2 separate regions of the Homo sapiens genome follow, and region 2 is linked to region 1. The links are contacts of gene promoters, found by promoter capture Hi-C in blood cells and fetal thymus (Javierre and others, 2016). All regions are on one chromosome and are shown on one strand. The core of a region is centred on a gene start or on the middle of the fragment in contact, and the rest is flanking DNA. Distances in the headings are between cores, read along the strand shown.

Region 1 (3,116 bases), core at 569-3,068:
TGTTTTTTGTTTTTTTTTTGGAGATGGAGTCTCGCTTTGTCTCCCATGCTGGAGTGCAGTGGCATGATCATGGCTCACAGCAACCTCTGCCTCCTAGGTTCAAGCAATTCTTGTGCCTCAGCCTCCCAAGTAGCTGGGACTAAAGGAGTGTGCCACCGGGCCTGGCTAATTTTTGTATTTTTAGTAGTGACGGGGTTTTGCCATGTTGGCCAGGCTGGTCTTGAACTCCCAACCTCAGGTGGTCCACCTGCCCCGGCCTTCCAAAGTGCTGGGGTTACAGGAATGAGCCACCGCCCTGGTCGAAAGGATGGTGTTCTGTGTTGAGGTCCTTCATAAGCAAAGTCCCAGAGGCAGGTGTGAATCTGGGCTTTTAGGCCTGACTGGAGTTAAGTGTGGATGTTTGAGGGGGCGGTGTAGATGTTGACCAAGTGGGGTAAGGAGGTGTGTGCAAAGTTGGTGGTCCTTCAGCGTCAGATATATGTGTCAGATGTGTGTCCAGGATGCCCCACATGCCAGCTTGCAGAGGGCTTCCTGTGCTGGGCTGGCATGTGGTCCAGGAGTTGCCATGTGCCAGCTGTGTGTTCGAGGCATGCGGTCACATATGCTGTGGGCCGCACGTGAGTGTGTCAGTGTCTCCTCCCCATCACGAGCATCGGGGGTGGTGGTGAGTCACGGGCTCAGCCTTCGGCGCCAACTGTCATGTTTCTTCCCCCCAAATTTCACCCCCCACCCAGCCATGCACCACCCACCCCCACTCCAAGATCTGTGTCGCTTCTCTCTTCCATCCCCCTGTCCTGCTCAGCTCCTTCTGAGAGGCTGCAGGGTGTTCCCTGGGAAGGAGTCTCCCACTTCTGGCTCTGCCCTCCAGCTTCCTCTCCTTGTCCCATCCACCTTTCCCACTGCCTCTCTGCTCCTGTGACTAGAGAATGAGGGCCCCTTCTCTCCACCCACTCATCTCTGTGGGTCCCAAGGATTTCTCTGTGCACTATAGGGAATTCTCATACTCACCACCCATCCCCTCACCTCTATAGGAGCTATTTATATTGGGGGAGGCTTGCCCCGCATCTCCAGGCTGGCAGCTCCTGCCTCAGTGGCTCTCTTGTGTCTATGAGCCACATCCTTGTCTTTTTGGTACCCTGGTGTCTGTAGGCCTCCCTTGTTTCTGTGACCTTCTTCGGCTCTCCTTGGCTCTCTCCCTGCCCTGTGGACCGCTCCCCATATCTGAGGAGTGCTTTCTGTTTCCAGGGGCCTCTCTCTTGTGTCTCTGGCTTCTCCCGTTTTCCTTCGCGGGAGGTCTCTATGTCCACATTACTGCCCCTTGTCTCCGAGGTCCTTTTGCTTGTCTCTGTAGGCTGCTCCCTTGTCTCCATGGGCCTTTCTTTCTTATCCCTGGGCTTTTCCTGTCCTTGTCCTTGTGGGGTTTGTGGGCCTCAGCCCACTTCTCTGGACAGTCTTGACGGCTGTCTCTCTTCTCTTCATTTCTCTTCATCTCTGTAGCCCTCTCCCCTCATCTCAGTGGCCTTCTCCCTGGGTCTTCTTGCCTCTCATCTCTGTGGGCTCCTGTGCCCAGGGCTGCCTGGGCAGGGCGGTGGCATGGTGTGGTAGAGGGGGTGGCTCGGGGGTGGGCCTTCCATCCAATGCAGCTCCTTCTTCTCATCAGCATTCTCCTCGCGGGGGGCCCCCAGCCCCAACCAATACAGGCTCCCCCTCCCCCGACTCACCTCCCTACTCTCTCTTTGCCTGCCTCCCTCCCTTCCTCCTGCCCGCCCTCCTCCCTGCCTCCCTCCCTCCCTCTTCTCTCTCTCCTGAACCACCCCACTGCGCTCCAGGACCCAGCGCAGGCGGCAGGCGGGCAGGCAGGCGGCGGCCTCGGAGGGGAGACTGAGCGGTGGCGGCAGCCAGCGGCAGGGAGGCAGGCCCAGCCGGGGACTGGAGCCGGGGACTGGAGCCGGCTCCTCACAGGGGACCAGGAGTGTGTCGCCAGGCCCTCCCACTGAGGCCCAGCACCGGGAGCCCCTGGGACACCCCACCCTCCTCCGCCTTTCTCTTCCACCTGCTCCTCTCCATCCTCCTCTCCCTCCTCCCTATCTCTCCACCTCATTTGCCCCCTTCTTGGCCTCTCCGGGTCTCCCAGCTCTCCATCCTCCCCAGCTCTCCACTCCCGGGCTCTCCCCGCCCCCAGCATGCTTTTCCCGTGGGGGCTGAGGGCTTGAGGACTCCGGGCCCTTGCCTCAACCAGGGCAGGGCCCAGGCTCCAGGGGGGAGGGGGAAAGGGGGCGGCCCCCTCCCCCAGCAGGCCCTCCCCTCCCCCACTTCTCCTGATGGCCGGCTTCCTTTTCTCCACCCAGTCCTCGCCCCCTGTGGCCCCCCCAGGCCGGCCCGGCTAGGGGAGGGGGCGGGGGCCCTTTCCTGGGCCAGCTTCCCCCTCCCCCGGCTTTGCCTGTGCCCCCCCCTTCCGTTTTCACCTTCCTCTCCTCCTTTCCTCCCTCCTTCCCCTCCATTTGCTCCTTCCCCCTCTCCTCTCTCCCCTTCTCTCCTCCATTTTCTCCTTTCCCCTTCCTCCCCTCCCCGGCCCGCCCTCTCCTCTTCCACCTGTCCTTCCTCCCTGCTCCTGTGGAGCCACCGTTTTGGATTAGTTGGGAGCCACCACCGGCGGCGGGGGAGGGGGCCCTGTGGACTGCCCTCTCCCCCCGCCCAGCCCCACCACCACCCAGCGCCAGAGCACCTCCCGCTGTCGGTCTTCGGGCCTCGAGGGAGCCCAGCCCTCCGTCCCACCAGGATCCGTGAGTGTCTGCAGGGCAGGGATTGGGCTGGGTTCTGGGTCCTGGAAGGCTGGGCTCTGGTGCCGCCTGGCAGGGGGGCACCACATTCTCCCCGTTCTCCGGACTGGCAAGTACCCTCCCCCACTAGGGGCCTGCTCTGCGCCCTCCATCTCCTCAGCGTCCATTCACCTCGACCTCTTCTCACCTCTTCTTCTGGGTACATAGCTCACTGCCGCCCCTGGCCCTCTAGCTTTCTGGGGTCCTACGGGGCTGATTGCTCTTACTTGGGCTCTCACTTACCCCGGGCCCCTGGCATGTCCGTGCCCCTGCTGTCTCCAAGCCTCCGTCCTGGTC
Region 2 (3,517 bases), core at 1,012-3,511, 260 kb before region 1:
GTAAGGTCAGTGGTGCGAGGCTGGAAGTCATGGCAGGGGTCCAAGGCCACACAGAGTGGCTGGATGGGAGGACAGATTTGGGCCTGGCTGGAGGAAGGAGGGTGGTGTTCACAGATGAGAGTGGGGTATAGATGAGAGTGGGATATCCTCAGCAGGGGAGGCCCTGCAGGTGAAGGTGGGGTGGGGTTGGAGTAACAGGTGAGGGGCAAGCTCTGGAAGGAGAGGGAAGTGGGTGTCACGGAGGAGGGTGGGGTGGTGGGGGGAGTTTCATGCAGGAGCAAGGTCAGACCTAGGAGATGGGCGTGGAGGCTGCGCTCACAGATCAGGGCCCCAGGGGAAACAGGGCTGGGGACCGGCTCACCGAGGCGCAGGTGCCGTGGCTGCCACAGTAGGCTGAGCACTCCTGCAGGCCACAGTCAGGACCCCCCCAGCCCGGCTCGCAGGCACACACACCCGGTGGCTGGCACTGCCCGTGGCTCTGGCAGCCACCCGGGCACAGGGAGAAGCGGAATGAGGCGTTAAAGCCCAGCAGGTTGTAGTTGGCATCACTGAAGAGGTGCAGCAGCATCTGCGGGCACAAGGTGTGCTGGGTAAGGTGGGCAGGGCCTGGGGATTGTCCTGGGAGGGTGGCCCACTCCTGCCCCCTTCCACCCTGGGGGACCCAGAGCCTCATCTCCTTCCTTTGCCTCTCTCCACCTTCCCTTGTCCCTGTGCTCTGCTCTTGGATGCCCTCTTACTGACTCTCTGTCCCTCCTTTCTTCTTCCATTTCCCTCGGTGTATCTGCCACGGCCCCATCCCCACTAACCTTGCCTGAGGAAGCTTCGATGGGCGGAGGTCGGGTGCTCCCACTTAGACTGGCAAGCAGCGGCCCTCGCGGGGAGTCACCGTCATACACGAACAGGTAGTCATACGTGCACTCTGTGTCCAGGAAAAGGAAGTCCAGCAGGATCCGGTGCTGGGGGCTTGGGGCTGGGAGGTGAGCACAGAGGGACCAAGCTCTAAAGCGGACCTTCTCCCCACACCTCCCTGCAGCCTCCCACAATTGTACACCAAACCCTGATCCAGGTGATGCTGGGGGCTCAAGAATGAGTCAGACCTGGGCCCCGCCTTGAAGGGGCCCCCAGTCTCATAACCTAGGGCAGTCAAGGGCTGTGACAGCCAGAGGGACAGGAGCCCAGAGAAAGAATCATAATATTCCAGACCTCTAGAAAGGTCACCTGAGATCAGAATGAACACTCCCACCATTCAGATGGGAAAATTAAGTACAGAGAAAACCCCATCCCAGTGGCCACACAGAGCAGAATCCAGTGTTCCTGATGCCTCTCTCTTCCTGTCCATGCCTGAGTTTCAGACATGTCCAGGCTGGAGGGTCAAGGTCATAATCCCAGTGAGAAGAGCACCTCCGTGACACCACCCCTGGCCCACGCTGAATAGAGCTGCAAGAGAAGAGTCCAGCTTCTTCCCCCAGAACAGAGGCCTAACCTTGGAGCGGCATAGTTCCCCTCTGTCCCCATCCAGAGTCTCACCTCTGCTTATTGTGATGGTTACAAGCACAAACTCTGGAACCAGACTGCCTGAGCTTATGTCTTGGCTCTGCCACCAAATAGCTACCAGCTGTGTGATCTTGGCCAAGTAACCCACCCCCTCTGGATCGGTCTCCTCATCTCTAAAGTGGGATATAGTGGTACTGTGGTGGAATCAAACTTATAGGCCACTCCTGCCATTGAAAGTTAATTCCCTGCCTCTCGTATCTGGGAAGAGCCTTAGTGACTTGCTTGACCAATAAAAAAACAGCAGAAATTCTGAAACTTCCAAGGCTAGATCATAAGAAGACTTGTACTTTTCACCTGGGCCTCGTAGAATGCTCCTTCTCAGAACACAGCTGTCATGATAGGAAAAGCCAAAGCCGGCTGGGCACGGTGGCTCACACCTGTAATCCCAGCACTTTGAGAGGCCAAGGCAGGCGGATCACGAGGACAGGAGTTTGAGACCAGCCTAGCCAACATGGCGAAACCCCGTCTCTACTAAAAATACAAAAATTAGCTGGGCATGGTGGCGGGTGCCTGTAATCCCAGCTACTTGGGAGGCTGAGGCAGGAGAATTGCTTGAACCTGGGAGGCAGAGGTTGCAGTGAGCCGAGATTGTGCCATTGCACTCTAGCCTGGGGGACAAGAGCGAGACTTCGTCTCAAAAAAAAAAACAAAGAAAAGCCAAAGCCACAAGAAAAGGCCACACACAGGCATTCCGGCTGACAGTCCCAACTGAGCTTCCAGCTGACAGCCAGCATCAACTGCCAGCCCTGGGAGGGACCTTCCTGGATGTCCAGCCAAGGTGAACATTCAGCTGACTGCAGCCCCAGCTGACATCTGACTGCAACCTCATGAGGAGCAATAATGCACACGAAATGGTGACAACAGAGTGGGGTGGGTGGCTCACGCCTGTAATCCCAGCACTTTTGAGAGGCCAGGGCAGGTGGATCACCTGAGGTCAGGAGTTCCAGAACAGCCTGGCCAACATGGTGAAACCCTGTCTCTTACTAAAAAAAAATACAAAAATTAGCCAGGCATGGTGGTGCAAGTCCCAGCTACTCAGGAGGCTGAGGCAGGAGAATTGCTTGAACCCGGGAGGCAGAGGTTGCAGTGAGCCAAGATTGCACCACTGCACTCCAGCCTGGGCGACAGAGGGGACTCAAAAAAAAAAAAGAGGCTGGGTGCCGTGGGTCACGCCTATAATCCCAGCACTTTGGGAGGCCAAGGTGGGTGGATCGCTTGAGGTCAAGAGTTCGAGACCAGCCTGGCCAACATGGTGAAACCCCGTCTCTACTAAAAATACAAAAAATTAGCTGGATATGGTGGCACATGCTTGTAATCCCAGCTATTTGGGAGGCTGAGGCAGGAGAATTCTTGAACCCGGGAGGCAGAGGTTACAGTGAGCTGAGATCATGCCATTGCACTCCAGCCTGGGCGACAAGAGTGAAACTCTGTTTCAAAAAAAAAAAAAAGAAATGTTGACAATGGGGCCCACATATCGTGGAGAGTGCCACTACCCCTAACACTGTCACTGTCTTATTCTCTGCCAGTCCTAGTTCAGGTAGCCTCTCTCATTCCACATCCCACATGAGAAGCCTTCTGAACAGGCAGCTCAGGGGAGTCCTCTGGGTGAGGGAAATTAGGAGGCCTAGGCTCTGGCTCTGGCTCTGGCTCTGCCCATGACCAGCTGGAGGACCCTGGGCCAGCCCTTTCCCCCATGACCCTCAGTGTGCCTATCTGGATCCTGGAGACACTCAGCCACCACTGCCAATGGCTGGGTGATCCTGGGCCAGTTCCATGGGCTCTCTGAGCCTTAGTTTCCATGACTGTAAAATGGGGATAATTCCCCCCACCCACAAAGGCTGGGGTGAACATTCAACGAGGTGATGACTCCAGCCTGCCAGCTTAGAGCCAGAGTGTGCCCTGGCTGCCCGGCCTCATCCTGTCTCACCAGAACCACTGATCCAACCTCCTTCTTCCCCTGACA

The links. The method cuts DNA at HindIII sites, captures the fragments that hold promoters and counts their contacts. A CHiCAGO score of 5 or more calls a contact.
Region 2: a contact is called between a fragment that was not itself captured here and the fragment with the promoter of GRIK5 in region 1, in 1 of 17 cell types (naive CD8 T cells). The highest score is 5.0, in naive CD8 T cells.

Annotation. Positions count from the first base shown.
Region 1 is chr19:42,068,908-42,072,023 of GRCh38, reverse strand. It overlaps GRIK5 (glutamate ionotropic receptor kainate type subunit 5), which reads left to right and starts at 1,818. Exons shown (of 20, transcript NM_002088.5): 1 at 1,818-2,783. It also overlaps a transcript of ZNF574 not described here. The HindIII fragment of the contact is 24,593 bases long and covers 1-3,116 here.
Region 2 is chr19:42,331,058-42,334,574 of GRCh38, reverse strand. It overlaps MEGF8 (multiple EGF like domains 8), which reads right to left. Exons shown (of 42, transcript NM_001271938.2): 2 at 807-970; 3 at 362-568. Among named protein-coding and RNA genes, the nearest start is that of MEGF8, 7.2 kb to the right of the region's middle. The HindIII fragment of the contact is 2,877 bases long and covers 823-3,517 here.